Regions from separate parts of the Homo sapiens genome. Here regions 2 and 3 are each linked to region 1. Evidence: promoter capture Hi-C in 16 types of primary human blood cells and fetal thymus (Javierre and others, 2016). All regions are on one chromosome and are shown on one strand. The core of a region is centred on a gene start or on the middle of the fragment in contact, and the rest is flanking DNA. Distances in the headings are between cores, read along the strand shown. Region 1 holds the start of HARS2 (histidyl-tRNA synthetase 2, mitochondrial). Region 2 overlaps ANKHD1-EIF4EBP3 (ANKHD1-EIF4EBP3 readthrough). Region 3 overlaps ANKHD1-EIF4EBP3 (ANKHD1-EIF4EBP3 readthrough).

The links. The method cuts DNA at HindIII sites, captures the fragments that hold promoters and counts their contacts. A CHiCAGO score of 5 or more calls a contact.
Region 2: a contact is called between a fragment that was not itself captured here and the fragment with the promoter of HARS2 in region 1, in 2 of 17 cell types (M2 macrophages and monocytes). The highest score is 7.3, in M2 macrophages.
Region 3: a fragment that was not itself captured here is called in contact with the fragment with the promoter of HARS2 in region 1 in 1 of 17 cell types (M1 macrophages); the score reaches 5.3 in M1 macrophages.

Annotation. Positions count from the first base shown.
Region 1 is chr5:140,689,833-140,692,884 of GRCh38, reverse strand. It overlaps HARS2 (histidyl-tRNA synthetase 2, mitochondrial), which reads right to left and starts at 1,430. Exons shown (of 13, transcript NM_012208.4): 1 at 1,129-1,430. The coding sequence starts at 1,236. HARS1 (histidyl-tRNA synthetase 1) reads left to right here and starts at 1,515. Exons shown (of 13, transcript NM_002109.6): 1 at 1,515-1,670; 2 at 1,941-2,030. The coding sequence starts at 1,581. RefSeq lists enhancers at 1,179-1,248, 1,329-1,418, 1,579-1,808 and promoters at 1,080-1,396, 1,461-1,487, 1,459-1,580, 1,130-1,580. The HindIII fragment of the contact is 4,332 bases long and covers 1-3,052 here.
Region 2 is chr5:140,472,947-140,475,998 of GRCh38, reverse strand. The region is part of intron 10 of ANKHD1-EIF4EBP3 (ANKHD1-EIF4EBP3 readthrough); the gene reads right to left. The region is part of intron 10 of ANKHD1 (ankyrin repeat and KH domain containing 1); the gene reads right to left. Among named protein-coding and RNA genes, the nearest start is that of ANKHD1-EIF4EBP3, 73 kb to the right of the region's middle. The HindIII fragment of the contact is 5,450 bases long and covers 1-3,052 here.
Region 3 is chr5:140,509,982-140,513,033 of GRCh38, reverse strand. It overlaps ANKHD1-EIF4EBP3 (ANKHD1-EIF4EBP3 readthrough), which reads right to left. Exons shown (of 36, transcript NM_020690.6): 22 at 2,853-3,015; 23 at 111-206. It overlaps ANKHD1 (ankyrin repeat and KH domain containing 1), which reads right to left. Exons shown (of 34, transcript NM_017747.3): 22 at 2,853-3,015; 23 at 111-206. Among named protein-coding and RNA genes, the nearest start is that of EIF4EBP3, 36 kb to the left of the region's middle. The HindIII fragment of the contact is 669 bases long and covers 1,109-1,777 here.

The DNA of each region.
Region 1 (3,052 bases), core at 181-2,680:
AGTCTTACTCTGTCGCCCAGGCTGGAGTGCAGTGGCACGATCTCAGCTCCTGCAACCTCCGCCTCCCGGGTTCAAGCGATTCTCCTGTCTCTGCCTCCCGAGTAGCTGGGATTACAGGCACATGCCACCACGCCCGGCTAATTTTTGTATTTTTAGTAGATACGGGGTTTCGCCATACAGGTCAGGCTGGTCTCAAACTCCTGACCTCAGGTGATCCACCCCCCTTGGCCTCCCAAAGTGATGGGATTACAGGCATGAGCCACTGTGCCCGGACAAAAAAATAATAATTTTTAATAAGGTAGCACTGGTTATCAGGTTTAGAGAGAGGAAAACTGTAACTTGAAGACAAGGGAACCAGCTCAAGGACACAGAACAAGCCTGTGGAATGATAAGATATGGATTTCTTGAATGAGCTAAAAAACTCAGACTGATAAGATGCTGTGATTGAATATCAATAAAAGATCTGTGCCCTATTGTTCACGATAGCACAAAGCATCTGCTAAGAGAGCATTAGAATCTTTCCGAAGTAAGGCAAAACTTAATCAGTGACATTACCAGCACGCTGTATGCCCTTCCAAAAATAGAGGATGTGGTGGTTCCATACTATGGCGATTATCTGCCCTAAGAGAAGTCCAAGTTCAAGTACACAATCCCTTATCTGCAATTCCAAAATCCAAAACTCTCTGACATCTGAAAATGTTTTTCTGAGATTCATTTTGAGGTAAATTCTAAGATGAACTCAGTCTACTTCTGATCTTTAGTCATCTCATTTACTAGGAATATTCATATATTTCGCTTAAAAATGTTACTGTTTGAGTCCAAGAGTTTCAGGAAAAAGTGTGGATATGAATTAAAATACTCCCTTACTACATATCCGTGTATAAGTCATTCATTTAATCTTGCAGCCTCCGTTTCCTCAACTGCAGAATGGAAATCAAAACTCCAACCTCTCAAGATTGCTCCAAGGATTAAATGACCAGGCATCCAAATCGCTTAGTTCAGTGTCAGTACATAGTGGGCACTCGATAAAAACCGATTGTAACACTACTGGAATACAGGCCGCGAGGCTATGCGTTCAGATCTGGAGACCCTGCTGGGACAGACCAGAGATAATTCTGTCTCGCTCACCTGGCTTTGGCAACGGACCGCCCCGGTGCACGAAGCGCAGGGCGGTCGCAGGAGCTGGCTGAGCAGCGAAGCCCAGGCCCTCCTGGGAAGAAGTCCGAGCAGGGGCATCGCGCGGCAGGACGCCGGCTTTCCGGGACAGGAACAAAAGGCCTGGGAAGGAGGCGGGTCAGACACCAGGAAGGGTGGAGGGCACTGCAAAGGCGGAACCCGCGCACCAGGGAAAACTCGGGCGTTTGCGCACCTCACTAGTCACGAAGGCTGAGGTGGGATCCTCCCAAGTTCCCTTAGTAGCCAGCTTCGGCACTTCCGGGAGGAGCCGGAAATAATTTTTGTGCTCGGCGGAGGCTCTCTAGGCGTGCGACCCAGCGACTCGATAGCCGGAAGTCATCCTTGCTGAGGCTGGGGCAACCACCGCAGGTCGAGACAGCAGGCGGCTCAAGTGGACAGCCGGGATGGCAGAGCGTGCGGCGCTGGAGGAGCTGGTGAAACTTCAGGGAGAGCGCGTGCGAGGCCTCAAGCAGCAGAAGGCCAGCGCCGAGCTGGTGAGATTTAGGCAGCAGGGGAGAGGGCCAAGGCAAAGCCTGGGAGGACGTAAAGCCAGGGTGTTCGGGACATAGGGTAGAGATGTGAGGGAAGCGACCAGTCTTGTAGGGAGGAGAGTGGGCTGCGTGGGGAGACATCCGGGGTGGGTCCCGAGAGAAACAAAGCTAGGCCTGAGCAGAGAGATGTGATGAGGGAGGAATATTGAATGAATGGCGGGGGAGGGAGGAGAGTGACAGATGGATAGCTCAGCGCCTTCTTTCCCTCCACAGATCGAGGAGGAGGTGGCGAAACTCCTGAAACTGAAGGCACAGCTGGGTCCTGATGAAAGCAAACAGAAATTTGTGCTCAAAACCCCCAAGGTAATATCATTCCTGTAGGGAGCCACTGAGAAAGTCTCTAACTCTACTCACGGGGCGCTTATGTCTGCCTCCCTAAACCAGGTCATTGAGGAGGATCTGAAATGCTGCAGAGGAGAGGACAGTCGCTCTGGGCGCTGGGCTGGACTGGACTCTACCTGAGTCATTCTGGGATGGCAAAGTGATGGCAGAAACTAGGCCAGCTGGGTGATCAGGGGAGTCAGCCTGCTGCTGCTACTCCTTCGTTCATTCAATAAATGTGTATTTAGCGCTATGTCTCTAGCACTATACAAAGCACTGAATATATACCATGGTGGACAATATAGCCTACCCTCATGGAGCTTACATTCTACTGAAGGAGAGAGACTTAGAACAAATAATCCCACACAGATTTTTTTGTTTTTTTTTTAAACAGAGTATCCTCTGTTGCACAGGCTGGAGTGCAGTGGCACATCTTGGCTCACTGCAGCCGCTGCCTCCTGGGTTCAAGCGATTCTCCTGCTTCAGCCTCCTGAGTAGCTGGGACTACAGGTGCCCACCACCATGCCCAGCTAATTTTTGTATTTTTAGTAGAGACGGGGTTTCACCATATTGGCCAGGATGGTCTTGAACTTCTGACCTCAAGTGATCTGCCCGCCTCAGTCTCCCAAAGTGCTGGGATTACAGACGTGTGCCACCGCACCCGGCCACCACATGTGGTTATGTAATTACATATTGTGAAAAATGATATAAAGAAATTAAGGTTGCTCTGAGAAAAATAAGGGAGAACTGGGGAGTCTGAGAAAGGCTAACTGAGGAAGTGATATACTAACTGATCTAATGAATGAGTAGGAGATAGCCAGAGGACAAGTGTGACAAAGATAGGTCCAGGTAGAGTATGGAAACCCTAAAGTGGGAAAGAACTTTGGTAGTTTTGAGGAACTAGAGGATGATCTACATGGCTAGAACTAAGTTAAGGAGAGTAGAGTGGAATGAGGTTGGAGATTCTGAGCTCATCCTCCAGTTCAGTTCCACTTTCTGTAAGT
Region 2 (3,052 bases), core at 368-2,867, 220 kb after region 1:
TGGTCATAGTTTAAAATAAACATGTTCATAATTCTCAAGATTAAAGTTTATTTCAATTTCCTTGAGTGTATTATATTTTGCTTTTTGTTTGTTTACATTTTGACTATCTTTCTTGATAAAGATTCGCTCTCCAGCTTTATAATTTTTTTACTGAGGAAACTCATTTTGATGGGAGGTGTTTTGTTTTAGTTTCTTTTCCATCCACAGATGTACTCCTCATCAGATGTTTTGGAAGTTCCCTCAGTCTGGCTCTTGGAGTCCATTTCAGAAGTAGATATTTTGCTGGACACCTAAGGTTCTTGTCTCATAGAGATATTTCACTTCTGTTCCCTAAATCAAGAAGGTTGTCCTCCAAGTTTTTAGTTACACAGTTGTCTCTGTTTCTTCCATTAACGACAATTTGCTAATTTTTCCCCCCTTTTTTTTAGTTTTTTTGGGTTTGTTTTGTTTTGTTTTTTACATACAACCTGGATATGACAATTTGCTAATTTCTAACCATAACCCTAGATAGTTGATCAAATATTTTTTTATCCATTTTGGTTCACAGGTAGGGCAATAAGATGCCGGTTCCTTGCTTTATTCAAGTAGACTAGATCTACTGATGTACTACATGTGAAATGCATTCATTCCCTATTCCTCTGCACATGCTGAAATCTCAGCCCCCATTGTGTATTTTTTTAGCCCTTAATTCTCCTTGGGACTACAGCTTAAACTGTGGATCCATGCTGCACTTCTAGTCCACGGAGATCTTTAATCCTGTTGTTTTGGGGCACGACTACATATTTTTAGATTCATTTTTCTATATACTAATAATGACTTTACCTTCTTGACTGAAGTCATTTGTACTTATATTTAAACAACCTGGAGAGAGCTGAAAAGAACTCATTCAATACACAATAACATAGAAAGAGAGAACTTGGCTTTAAAAGAAATGTATTAGGAGTTTTGTGTATTCCATAGGTAGTTTTAGATTTTTAAGAAATTGACAGAAGTTTCCTAGTTTTAAGTAGTAAAGTTAAAAATATGTATATACGCTATTCCTTAATAAAAAAGTTAAAAAGTGGAAGGTAAGGTCACATTTAAAGTTTATTAAGGTAAGGTAATTACTAACAGTTGAAATACATTGATAAGTAGATTACTAGAGCTCATAAGCTCCCTAAAAATATATCTATAAAAAATACACTACAAGTCTGGGCAAGATAGCAAGACTTTGTCTCTGAAAAAAAATTTAAAAATTAGCCAGGCATTGTGGTGCATACCTGTAGTCCTAGCTACTCAGGAGGCTGAGGAAAGGGGATGCCATGAGCCCAGGAGTTCAAAGCTGCAGTGAGCTATAATCACGCTTTTGTACTCTAGCCTGAGCGACAAAGTGAGACCATCTCCAAAAAAAAAAAAAAAAAGAAGAAAAAAAAAAGGTTCTGATGAATGAGCACTGTAAGAAAAAATGTGGAATTTTTTCTATTTGGCTTTAGATAACAAAATTTTATTTTAAATTAAGTTTATTTTATTTAAAATAAGTTAATTTCCCTTAAAAAATCACAGCCACAGGGCACCCAAGACATATATTTAAGGACTGTAACTATACCACAGAGGCAATGTCTTTTGGAGTTGGAGGGAGGACATTCTCTAAGGAGAAAGACCAAAATCACAGAGAAAAGGAGGGAGACTGTTTGATACTGTACGTACTAGAGGATTCCAATACTCTTCCATGGGGAGTATGTTCCTTCAACCCACCACTGTATATTAATCATTACCTTAGTGATCTACTATTACTGATTGGATTCATACCCCTCAGGAGAACTGATATGGATAAAAGGTTAAGAGGCACTGGTCCTAAGGCTTGTGTTTAGCACATTTTCTAAAAATCACAAGTAACAGAGAGAAAAACCAAGTTTATTCAATTTGGATGGAGGAAAAATGATCGATTATAAAGCAAAGATGGAAAAAGAAAAGAACTCAGCAATGATGCAGAATAATCTGTATGGCCTCTACCAATGTCTCAAAGTGTAAAATATGGAGAACTTGTCATCAGAATCTCCTGAGATATTAGTTCAAATGCAGACCCCCTATTTCAGATCTATGGAATCTGAACCTGTAAACGTGGGGCTGCAAAACTCATTTTTAAAAAAATCCTGTTTTGAGACTTGCAGCTAGAGAGAAAGATTTACAATTACATTTCATCTAACAAATCCAGGGAAAAACAATTACTTTGATCTGAAATAACACTCAGCTTTACATTCTTGATAGGAGCCTATAATATTATACAAACTGAGTAGAAGCTCACATGTTCACATCACATTTTGTAAAATAAACTTACTTACTTCAAAGTAGAATAAATATATCCAGCCTGGACAGTACAGTGAGACCTCATCTCTATAAAAATGAAAAAAATTAGTTGGGCATGGTGGCACATGCCTCTAGTCCCAGCTACTGGGGAGGCTGAGGCAGGAAGATCACTTGAGCCTGGGATGGGAAGGCTGCAGTGAGCCAAGAGCACACCACTGCATTCCAGCCTGAGCAACAGAGTGAGACCCTGTCTCAAAAAAAAAAAATTTAAAAAATTTTTAAAAATCTCAACAGAATAAATAAAACAGCTTCTCATTTAACAAGCCAATGATGAAGACACTTAATAAGCATCATGATTAAGAGGGGTTTAGAATTAAGAAACTTAGGCCAGGCACGGTGACTCACGCCTGTAATCCCAGCACTTTAGGAGGCCGAGGCGGGTAGATCACAAGGTCAGGAGTTCGAGACCAGCCCAGCCAACATGGTGAAACCCCGTCTCTACTAAAGATGCAAAAAATTAGGTAGGCACGGTGGCACGCGCCTGTAATCCCAGTTACTTGGGAGGCTGGGGCAGGATAATCGCTTGAACCCAGGAGGCAGAGGCTGCAGGGAGCCAAGATTGCAGCACCACTGCACTCCAGCCTGGGCAACAGGGCGAGACTCTGTCTCAAAAAAAAAAAAAAAAAGAAACTTAGATGGCCTAAGTTATTTGTGATCTAATCACAATTCATTAATAATTTTAAAATTAAAAACTGCTCCTGATTTT
Region 3 (3,052 bases), core at 194-2,693, 180 kb after region 1:
ATCAGGTGACCAACCTTTCAGAATATAAAAAGAACAAGTTCCTAACTGCACACTTTGGCATATCATTCCACAAAGAACAAAAATGTGCTTCAGTAGCATATTAAACTTACCTTATCTGTAATTGTTGCTATGTATCTCATGCATTCTATATCAGAAGGGAACTGATTTACTTCCTTTACCAAATATTGAACAACTTTTACATGACCCTATAAGAAGTACAACAATCTTAGACAAGGTAGCATGAAAAGAAAAATTATTATTCTTAAGAATAAAAGAAAGTAAAACAACAGAATTACAAAGGAATCCCTTGATTTTGCATATATGCCTACCAATTTAAGAATAAAAAGGCAAATACTTCCAAATAGAATATTAAGCTTAAAATTAAAATTATAAAAATAAGATCAGCATTCAGCTTATAAAAAGAAAGGCATAAAAGACAAGAATGTGTGCTCAGGAATGGATGGTGGACTAGACAACATTTCTCCTGAATTTAATCCCACTGAAATTAGAAAAAGCTTTTGTAGAAAAACAGTATCTCCTAGAATAAATCTATTAAACAAACATTGGTGATGTAAAATGAACCTCAGTGTAAAAGGGAAATGAGTCCTAAAATAAGTAATTTTTTTTTAAATTTCAAAGTCTTACTTTGCCTCTACTTCACTAACTAAACAAGGTGGACTATCACAACTTTCTGAGCCTTAGGACTTGAATCTAAATAAAACACTTTCTAAATGCCATTATCAAGGGTTGAAAGATCTGTAATCAATTCTAAGCATATCTTTTTTTTTTTTTTTTTGAGATGGGAGTCTCGCTGTTGTTGCCCCGGCTGGAGTGCCACGGCACGCTCTTGTCTCACTGCAACCTCCGCCTCCCGGGTTCTAGCAACTCTCCTGCCTCAGCCTCCGGAGTAGCTGAGATTACAGGTGCCTACCATCACGCCTGGCTAATTTTTGTATTTTTAGTAGAGACGGGGATTTACCATGTTGGCCAGGCTGGTCTTGAACTCCTGACCTCAGGTGATCCACCTGACTCGGCCTCCCAAAGTGCTGGGATTATGGGCGTGAGCCACCGCACCCGGCCAGCATATCTATTTTAATGTAACCAAGCTTGCATAGTTTCCCTTCCTACCAAGGTTCTAAAACATCCTTAAGAATTAGTGTGATGGAGATACAAATCAGAGAAATGCTTGCCTCTGGGGCAGGGAAGTGACTAAAAGTGGGCAAGAGGGAACCTTCTAGGGTTACAGAAATAATTTATATGTTTATGGGGTATGGGTTACATGTATGTATACGTTTATCAAAACTAAACCATGTACCTTAAGATTCATGCATTTCACTATATGTAAATTGCACTGTGCTAAACAACTGGGTATATAAACAGTGCTGAAAAAGATGGTCATGACTCTTGTCCTCATGGACCTACCAGTCTAGTTGGCGAGACAGGCATTAAAATGGTAAGTACATGTTTGAAGATATAATTACAAATTGGGGTAAGGAAAATCAAAACTCAACTATAAAAGAGAAACAGAGGGACCTTTTTCAGATTTGGTGTTAGAGAAATACTCTTTGAGAACTGACATGTAAAATTGGAGCTAACAGATGAGTAGAGAGGTGAGCTAGGTGAACAGCAAAGGAAATCATTTCAGGAAAAGAAAATCAGTGAGCAAAGGCCCTGAGGCAGTTGAAAATTTAGTGCATTCTAGGCCAGTAACTAGAAAACAGTGAGCAAAAGGGGATAGTAGCATAAATGATTTGTATGGGGAGGTTGACATGAAGCTTATTATGCAGGTCTTTACATGCCCTACTAAGTAGTTTATAGTTTGGGAAGCTATACCAATGGGAAGGCTTTTAAAAATACAGCAGATAAGTGAACTTTAATATATATGAGAGGCCGGGCATGAACTTTAATATATATGAGAGGCATGGCTCACGCCCATATCTCAGCACTTTGGCAGGCAGAGGTGGGAGAATCGCTGAGCCCAGGAGTTTGAGACCAGCCTGGGCAACATAGCAAGACCTCGTCTCTACAAAAAGTAAAAATAAAAAAAATCTGAGCATGGTAGTGACACCTGTGGTCCCAGCTACTCAGGAGGCTGAGGCGGGAGGATCAATTGAGCCTGGGAGGTTGAGGCTATAGTGAGCTATGATCATGCCACTGCACTCCAGCCTGGTTGACAGACTGAGACCGTTTCATACTCACACACACACACACACACGCACACAGAAGATACAGTAAGTTTTTATGAAAGTCTACTCCTTTTTGTTCCTCTTTAGGCACAAAAAAATCCATCTGCATATAATAGTTTTTCTTAAATCTTCTGTTTCATGAACAATGTATCACAAATAGTCAAGACACCAAGTGATTTAACAACCAAGTTGCTTATAGTGAACTACCACATAGATCTTAGATTTGGCCACAAAAGAATGGAAAGATAAGGTCGGGAGCCTGTAATCCTAGCACTTTGGGAGGCTGAGGCAGGCAGATCACAAAGTCAGGAGTTTGAGACCAGCCTGACCAACGTGGTGACACCCCATCTCTACTAAAAATACAAAAATTAGCCGGGTGTGGTGACGCATGCCTGTAATCCCAGCTACTCAGGAGGCTGAGGCAGGAGAATCACTTGAACCTGGGAGGCAGAGGTTGCAGTGAGCCGCGATCATGCCACTGCATTCTAGCCTATGTGACAGAGTAAGACTCCGTCTCAAAAAAAAAAAAAAAAAAAAAGAATGGAAAGATAGCAGTGATTTTTCTATGGAAATATACTCAATTCTCCAAGATAAACTTATCTTTCTCACATGGTTTTAACTTAGAATTGGCTTAAAATTGACCTTTCTTCCCCCATATCAAATTACCTTGCGAAATGCTGACATAAGAGGTGTGATTTTCCGGTTATCTGCTGCATCCACATCAGCACCTGCTTGCACTAGCAACTGCACAACATCAAAATGACCTCCATTGGATGCCAGCCAAAGTGGCGTATTTCCCTTTTTGTTACGAACATCAATGTGGGCTCCCCTGTAAACAAGGCATATTAATAGTTTGTTTCCTGTAA